Linked DNA regions of Homo sapiens: all the other regions are linked to region 2. The links are contacts of gene promoters, found by promoter capture Hi-C in human tissues and cell types (Jung and others, 2019). All regions are on one chromosome and are shown on one strand. Each heading gives the region's core, a stretch centred on a gene start or on the middle of the fragment in contact. The rest is flanking DNA. Distances are from core to core; before and after follow the strand shown. Region 1 overlaps CENPP (centromere protein P). Region 2 holds the start of NOL8 (nucleolar protein 8). Region 3 overlaps CENPP (centromere protein P).

Region 1 (2,796 bases), core at 175-2,674, 220 kb after region 2:
CAGTGAGCAGAAATCTCACCACTGCTCTCCAGCCTGGGTGACAGAGTGAAACCCTGTCTCAAAAAAAAAAAAAAAAAAAAAAAAAAAAAGATTGCATTAGCTATTCAGGGTCTTTTGTGATTCCTTACGAATTTTATGATCGTTTTTCTGTTTCTGTTAAGAATGACATTGAAAAAAAAAGTTGAAATTTCGATAGGAATTACATAAAATCTGTAGAACACTTTGGGTAGTATAGTCATTCTAACAATATTAATGCTTCTAATCCATGAACAAGAGATATCTTTTCATTTACTTATGTCTTAAGTTTCTTTCATCAGCGATTTATAGGTTTCAGTGTAGAGATCTTTCTCCTCCTTGGTTATGTTTATTCTTAAGTATTTTGTTATTACGTATCTATTGTAAATTTTCTTGATTTCTTTTTCATGTAGTTTAGTTAGTATACAGAAAAGCTACTGATTTTTGTATGTTGATTTTGTATCTTGCAAACTTTATTGAATTCATTTATCAATTCTAGCAGTTTTTTGGTGCAGTCTTTAGAATTTTCTCTATATAAGATGTCATCTGCAAACAGAGAAAATGTACCTTTATCCTTTCCATTTTAGATATTTTTTATTTCTTTCTCTTATCTAATTGCTCTGGCTAGGACTACCAGTTTTATGTTGAATAGAAGTTGCGTGAGTCAGCACTGTTGTCTTATTCCTGATCTTAGAAGAAATGCTTTCAGCTTTTCATCGTTAAGCATGACATATTAACTGTGCACTTGTCATAAATGATCTTTATTGGGCTGGGCGTGGTGGCTCACGCCTATAATCCCAGCACTTTGGGAGGCTGAGGCACGTGGATCACTTGAGGTCAAGAGTTCAAGGCCAGCCTGGCTAACTTGACAAAATCCCGTCTCTACTAAAAATACAAAAATTAGCCGGGTGTGCTGGCACATGCCTGTAAACCCAGCTGTTTGGGAGGCTGAGGCACGAGAATCGCTTGAATCTTGGAGGCAGAGGTTGCAGCGAGCCACGATTGCACCACTGCACTCCAGCCTGGGCAACAGAGCAAGACTCCGTCTCAAAAAAATAAATAAATGGTCTTTATTTATGTTGAGGTACATTCTTTCTATAGTTAATTTGTTGAGGGGTTTTTTTTTTTATCATGAGAGGGTGTTGAATTTTGTCAAATATTCTACATTCCAAAGTTGTTCTTTAAAAAACAAAACTAGTAAAAGCTGTGGCAAGACTGATGCATGAAAAAAGGGAGAAAGCGTGGCTCACCAATGTGAGGACCAGAGAAATTGTTATCACTATAAATTTTTTTTTTTTTTTTTTTTGAGTTGGAGTTTCGCTGTTGTTGCTCAGGCTGATGTGCAGTGGCGCGATCTCAGCTCACTGCAACCTCCGCCTCTCGGGTTCAAGCAATTCTCCTGCCTCAGCCTCCCCAGTAGCTGGGAGTACAGGCGCATGCCACCACACCCAGCTAAATTTTTTTTTGTATTTTTAGTGGAGACGTGGTTTCACCATGTTGGTCAGGCTGGTCTCAAAACTCCTGACCTCAGGTGATCCACCCGCCTCAGCCCGCTCCAGAGTGCTGGGATTACCGGTGTGAGCAACCACGCCCATCTTACAAATTCTTAAAGCATTTAAAAGACAGTAAGAAAATCTTAAGAGGTGACAGCCTGCTGGCAGCCCTCGCAGCCCTCGCTCGCTCTTGGCACCTCCTCAGCCTCAGCGCCCACTCTGGCCGTGCTTGAGGAGTCCTTCAGCCCACGCTGTGCTGTGGGAGCTCCTTCCTGGGATGGCCGAGGCCGGAGCCGGCTCGGACCTGGGATGGCCGAGGCCGGAGCCGCTCAGGTTTAGGGGAGGTGTGGAGAGAGAGGTACGGGCGGGAACCAGGGCTGCGTGTGGCACTTGCAGGCCAGCTAGAGTTCTGGGTGGGCGTGGGCTTGGCGGGCCCCGTACTGGGAGCGGGCAGTGAGGGACTTAGCACCCCGGCCAGCAGCTGCGGAGGGTGCGTCGGGTACCCCAGCAGTGCCGGCCCACCGGCGCTGTGCTTGATTTCTCGTCGGGCCTTAGCTGCCTCCCCGCGGGGCAGGGCTCCGGACCTGCAGCCCGCCAAGACTGAGCCTCCCGCCCCGCCGGGCCCCTTCAAGGCCCGAGCCTCCCCGACGAGCTCTGCCCCCTGCTCCACCGCGTCCAGTCCCACTGACCGCCCAAGGGCTGAGGAGTGCGGGCACAGGGCGCGGGACTGGCAGCCAGCTCCACCTGCAGCCTGGTGCGGGATCCACTGGGTGAATCCAGCTGGGCTCATCCAGCTGGGCTCTTGAGTCTAGTGGGGATTTGGAGAACCTTTATGTCTAGCTAAGGGATTGTAGATATACCAGTCAGCACTCCGTGTCTAGCTCAAGGTTTGTAAATGCACCAATCAGCACACTGTGTCTAGCTCAAGGTTTGGTAAATGCACCAATCAGTGTTCTGTGTCTAGCTGATCTGGTGGGGACTTGGAGAACCTTTATGTCTAGCTAAGGGATTGTGAATGCACCAATCAGCACTCTGTCTAGCTCAGGGTTTGTAAATGCACCAGTCAGCACCTTGTGTCTAGCTCAGGGATTGTGAATGCACCAATCAGCACTCTGTGTCTAGCTCAGGGTTTGCAAATGCACCAATCAGCACCCTGTGTCTAGCTCAGGGTTTGTGAATGCACCAATCAGTGCTCTGTGTCTAGCTAATCTAGTGGGGACTTGGAGAACTTCTGTGTCTAGCTCAGCGATTGTAAACGCACCAGTCAGTACCCTGTCAAAACGGACCA
Region 2 (2,741 bases), core at 182-2,681:
TTTTGGTGTTCAGAGCTAACATTTATCTTGGGGTTGTTTTATTTTCTAGCACTTAACCTGAGTTATGTCTGCCTATAACTGCCCAGTGAAGGACCATAAATTACCTTGGTCATCTTTCCGTGTGATGATCTCCACATCCGAAACTTCTCCAAATCTGCTGAACTGATTTTGTAGGTCTGCCTCAGAAATGTCCTGGCTAAGGCCACCCACATAAAGGCGCTTCGTTTCTCTGTTCACTTTCATGAAGGCTGGGCATATACTTGGGTGTGTTTCAGTGGGAAAAGTAATTTTCTGTATACAGAGAAGAGTTCTTTCCCTTAGTTCTTCTAAAATCTAACAAAACAACTACTTCCTCTGAACCTTCTGTATCAAATCCGTCTCCTGGATCTGTATTTCACTTCCTATTGTATTACTTCCAAATTTTAGTCTTCGAGGTTTTGCCCAAGCCCTACATCCACATCTTTCATGAATGCACTTTGGAACAGCAACCCCATACCCATATAGACACAGGTACAGACAGAGTTTTTTTCCTCCAAATGGCCATAATATTACACTCTATCCCTCTTAATTTTATGTATTCATGTTTTTAGATGTTTTTCCTTGACTCACTCATACATTCATTTACTGTCTTTAACAAAGTCTGACAGAAACAGGATGTAACGCACTAAAAGATAAAAAGAGCTAGCCTACCTCTTCCTAATTGTCTCCACCCCCAACCTACCCACCCCAGCCTTCTTCCTCCTAGAAGACCCAAAGAAGTGAATAGAGAGGCTAGGAGCTCCTTATAGTCACAAAAGAATAAAACAAATGGCACAATATTATGTCACAATAAAAGTGCTGCAAAGTGGGGTTCAGACACAAAGATCAAGGGATATAGCGAATACAGACTTGTGTTTTTGCTATGTGCCTGCATTGTACAAAGTAGTTTGCATGTTTCCCATTTTTCAGGAGAGCAGAAGAGGTTAAGTCACTTCCTCAATGCCATACCGAAAATTAGTGAATCCAGGATTATAATGCAGGTCTACCTTCAGAACTTGGAATTCTTAACACTATACTATGAAGGTTGCTGTATCACAGGGGACTCAGGAAAACTTTTCCAGAGGTACTAGGGCCCATCATAGTATCTCTCATTTCGTTTAGCACCCGGCAGGCGCTCAGCTCTCGCCCTTCCCTTCCCCAAGAGCTGACAGACTCTTTCCAGAAGAGACTCCCAACCAGCGTCCACCACATGGCGTGTATTCTGGGCAGAACTTCGGCCTACCTCTTCCCGATAGTCTCCGCCCCCAGCCTACCCACGGCAGCCTTCTTTCTCTGAGAAGACCCAAAGAAGTGAAGAGAGACTAGGAAACGGCCCTGTGACTTCTCATGCCCGAAACCCACTCCTCACCACGTCGTTCACCTAAAGCCAGCGCCGCTGCAGCCCCTAACTTCTGGTCACGTGTCCCAACGGAGCATCCTCTCTTCCTTCCTACTCGATTTCCAACCCAGCCTCCTAAGGTTCCGTTACCACAATTCAGTTCCCAAGAGCTTTTAATTTCCTTTTCCGTCCTCCCACCTTCCCTGACGCCTCCGTCACCTCCCCCTCAACGACTGCAAAAGAGCCTAAACCAAAATCCCCTAGTTTCTATTGAACACTATCGCTGTGTGTACCAATTCCTGGACTAGGTCGGCGTAAGAGAGGAAGTAGGTGAAAAAAATAAAGAGGCGCTCCCCTCCACGTGATCCCAGCCCTGCCTCTTTAGTGAGGCACGCGGCCGGGCGGCTCCAAGGCTGCCGGCTAGGGTGAGCAGCGGAGCGCTTGGGCTTGGAGTAGCAAAGAACGCGCTCTCCAGAGAAAGTATAGCCACTGCTTAGACAGCCAGGGAAACGTGTGCGGGGAAGTGGAGGACTCAGGCTCTCGTGCGAGAGCGGAGTTGGACGTGCAGGGCCGCTGGGGTCACGCGGAGCTCTCCCGCCTCCCCTCCGCGTGAGCTCTGGGATGGTCCGCGCCGGGAGCGCGCGCGAGGCTTGAAGCGCGGGTGAAGCGCGCAGGTCGGAGTGACAGCTGCGCTGCCGGCCCGGCTGCGGTCAGCAACGCGCCATGGACGCAGAGCTGGCAGAGGTGCGCGCCTTGCAAGCTGAGATCGCGGCCCTGCGGCGAGCGTGTGAGGACCCACCGGCGCCCTGGGAAGAGAAGTCCCGAGTCCAGTACGTGACCACCCCAAGTCCCCCAGGGCCCGCTGGCCAGGGTTCCCGGGCCAGGCGGGTGAATCTCCACAGACATCCTCGGTCTCCTACTCCCAGCCCTAGAAAGTGGGCATGAACTGGCATTGATCCTGTCATGACGATGGCCTAGAGTTGGGAGCAGCGCGTACGGCGCCCAGCTGTAAACGCATTGCAGGGTATTAACTCGTTTAATCGCAGTCGTCTGTGTGGATGACTGACAAGGAGGAAGTCTTGACTATATCCCTAGCTAGATAATTCCGCCTCCAGTATGCAGAAGTATCTCTAGTTGGGATTTAATAACTCCGTTTGGTTTCATGGCATTTGTTTTGGTAGGTCAGCTAACCATCTCAACTGATAATGACTTTGTGTTTACGATGACATAAAAATTCCTTTGAAAAATAACTTCGGTAAAAAACTAAGTTGATAAAAGAAAAGTAGTTAATATAGACTGCAGGAGAATTTGACATTCCTCTGAGGTAGGTGCTACTGTTAGCCCTGTTTTATAGTTGAAGAAACTGAGGCTCAGAGAAGTTAGG
Region 3 (3,015 bases), core at 489-2,988, 200 kb after region 2:
ATAATTTATTTCTGTATTCTAGATGATCTATTGTTATAAATGGAAAGGTAGTTTATAAATGTTTATGTATATTATCTATGTTAGGATTACAACTATTTAAAATATATGCATAGTAAACATACTGGAAAGAAACCAAAATGATAACTATGATTTTGTAAATATAGTGGTAGGATAAGTAATTTTTGTCTAATAATTATAAATGTGTTCCTTAAGTTGTTTTTGGTTTTTTGGGGGTTGTTTTGTTTTGTTTTGTTTTGTTTTGTTTTTAATCTCGAGACGGAGTCTTGCTCTGTCGCCCAGGCTGGAGTGCAGTGGTGTGATCTCTGCTCACTGCAACCTCCACCTCCCAGGTTCAAGTGATTCTCCTGCCTCAGCCTCCCGAGTAGCTGGGATTACAGGTACATGCCACCACACCCGGCTAATTTTTTGTATTTTTAGTAGAGACGGGGTTTCAACATGTTGGCCAGGCTGGTCTTAAACTCCTGACCTCGTGATCTGCCCACCTCTGCCTCCCAAAGTGCTGGGATTACAGGTGTGAGCCACCGCGCCTGGCCCTATTTTTTAAATTATTTTAAAATGTATGTTTGTAGATTAAACCAAAAAGTAATATAATAACCTGGATTTTTCTTTAGAAAATTATCTTCATGGAGATGTTCTCCCTCTCTCCCTCTCTCCTTCTCTTTCCCCATACCATCTCTCACCCTCCTCCCTCTTTCTGTCTCTCTCTCATAGTGTTCTCTTACCTGGTAACACATTATAACTTGATTCTACTCCAGGAAAACTTGAAAAGGATTCAAACTTTTCCTCCATGCTATAATCAAAGTTAACAATAGGAAGTCTTGCTACTGGTGTAAAAACTGTTGTTTGCTGAATTCCAAGCTGTCTGTTTGATCTGTGCTTGTGTGAGGTTGAACTTTTCCTCAACCTTCTGTGGTAGATCTTCCTCCTTTGCTTCCTAGGAATTTCTTCATTTTTTCCAAAGTCAGTTTGAAAAATGATAAGCAGAAAAAAACAAAACAAAACTGCAATCTTCATGTTTGATTTTTTTCCACCAGCCAATTTCTAGAATGAAACAATATTTCAAAGTTAGTGGTGACTAAATTTTTACTTCTGAAAATTGGCTTATATATTTGCTTGTATGCCTCAGTAGGCAAGTCTTTGAGAAATTACACTTATGATATATGGACTATATGCTATAGTATTATTGCCAAATCATAATTTGGAATTCTTCTATCAGAATCAAAAAACTTTTTTTTTTTTTTAAATAGAGATGGGGTCTTGCTCCATCGCCCAGGCTGGAGTGCAGTGGTTCAGTCATGACTCACTGCAGCCTTGAACTCCTGGGCTCAAGCAGTCCTCCTGCATTGGCCTCCCAAAGTGCTGGGATTACAGCATGAGTCACCATGCCTGTTCAGAACTTTTTTGTATCTTACCTTTATCTTTAGACCAGGAATTAGAAACCTTTTTCTATAAAGGGCCAGATAGTAAATATTTGAGGCGTCATAGGCTACACCTTCTCTGTCATACCTATTCAGCTCTGTCATTGTAGCATGAAAGCAGCCATAGACAATATGTTGGGGACCAGCCTCAACACCACCCATAGGGTACCCAAAGCCCTGTGGCAACAAAGGAAGAGAAGAGACAGGTTAAGAGTTCATAAAGATGGGAGCCAGGGGGCCAGTTGCACAATGGAGGCTGCAAAAGGCCCAGAGTTCTGGTCTCCACACGATTTATTGAGTACAATCACTTAGATCTAAGAAGCAGATGTTTAGGGCGAAACAGTGAAAGGGAGGCAGCATGTCATAGGCGTAATCTATAGCAGTAGCGGTTTAAATGAATCTCCTTTGTGCTTAAACAGCATATCTTTAACTTATTGGAGAGTAGCTAGTAGGAGCGGGCTTAACTAGGAGCCTGTACGTCTGTCCACATTTCAGTGTTTCAGAGGAGTGTCTTTCTCCTTGAGCACAGTGTTTATAGATAAGAGAGCAGGTTGCACTCAGAGCATGGGAACATAACGGCGATAAGAAGGCTTTCCTCCTCAGAGACCTCTTGTGGCTTTCCACAACTTATTGTCCCATATTTTTATGGCCAGTTTATGCAGGCACTCCATAAGCCTTTTCCCCAACAACAATTTGTAAACAAATGAGCATGGATGTGTTCCAGGGAAACTCATTACCAGTAAAGGTGGTGGATCAGACATGGCCCCCTCTCTGGGCCCTACTGTTCTGCAGGTTTTCAAAGATTACTTGGGAGATTTCTCTCCACCTGTTTGCTAAGACGTTCTGTGACTGATGTAATCCACAACCCATTTTCCCAGCCGTTTTCTGTTTTGTGCTTTTATTCTCTAGCTTTATAATTGTCTGGGGGGAAGGGCGTGATGGTGCCATATAAAAATAACAGTCAATAGCATCAGTTATAAGGAGGTAAGAGTCAGGAAGAGTAACTCTTTAATTAGCTGGTCTCAGGGTTAGTATAGGGCCTTGCACATGGTAAAGCTGAAAAACATTTAAGAAATGAATATTTAGGCACTCTTGGTACAGTAGTAGCATTATGGTCAGACAGACTGGCGCAATCCCTGTGAAGTCTGGTGGCCAGGGACAAGAGAAACCTCCATCAAGGTGTTGCAGCAGCTGTCATCAAAGGATTCACTCAGCCAATCTCTCTTGGCCTAAAGTTAGTCCTACAAAGGAAGGTTGGCAGTTTTGACTGCCTCTCAGAATTCTACAGCTGAGAAACACACACATACTCACATACACACACCTATACCCCTTGCAGCTTTCCTCCTGCTCTTGCCTCAGGTCCACTCACTGTCAGTGTTTCCTGAGATGAAAAGCCTTCCTTACACAGCCAGTATGGAGGAGAAACTAAAACCCCAGGGATCATAAGAACCCAGATCACAACAGATTTGCCGCTGTTATCTTTTTAATGGGAATTTAAGGTATTTGGTGATTCTAGAAGGTTAAAGTAACTAACTTGCTCAGTGATGAAATTTATTTCAATTCTCACAGGCATACC

Evidence for each region. The method cuts DNA at HindIII sites, captures the fragments that hold promoters and counts their contacts. A contact is called where the count stands out against the background at its distance.
Region 1: a contact is called between a fragment that was not itself captured here and the fragment with the promoter of NOL8 in region 2, in 1 of the 25 tissues and cell types used here (H1 embryonic stem cells).
Region 3: a contact is called between a fragment that was not itself captured here and the fragment with the promoter of NOL8 in region 2, in 1 of the 25 tissues and cell types used here (IMR-90 fibroblasts).

Annotation. Positions count from the first base shown.
Region 1 is chr9:92,543,412-92,546,207 of GRCh38, forward strand. All of the region lies in intron 5 of CENPP (centromere protein P), which reads left to right. It also overlaps a transcript of ECM2 not described here. Among named protein-coding and RNA genes, the nearest start is that of ECM2, 8.8 kb to the left of the region's middle. The HindIII fragment of the contact is 5,415 bases long and covers 1-2,796 here.
Region 2 is chr9:92,323,919-92,326,659 of GRCh38, forward strand. NOL8 (nucleolar protein 8) reads right to left here and starts at 1,432. Exons shown (of 17, transcript NM_017948.6): 1 at 1,388-1,432; 2 at 105-291. The coding sequence starts at 243. It overlaps CENPP (centromere protein P), which reads left to right and starts at 2,035. Exons shown (of 8, transcript NM_001012267.3): 1 at 2,035-2,187. The coding sequence starts at 2,081. RefSeq lists enhancers at 714-1,602, 1,381-1,500, 1,531-1,640. The HindIII fragment of the contact is 17,330 bases long and covers 1-2,741 here.
Region 3 is chr9:92,521,832-92,524,846 of GRCh38, forward strand. The region is part of intron 5 of CENPP (centromere protein P); the gene reads left to right. It overlaps ECM2 (extracellular matrix protein 2), which reads right to left. Exons shown (of 10, transcript NM_001393.4): 2 at 744-1,062. The coding sequence starts at 1,035. Among named protein-coding and RNA genes, the nearest start is that of MIR4670, 4.7 kb to the right of the region's middle. The HindIII fragment of the contact is 7,872 bases long and covers 1-3,015 here.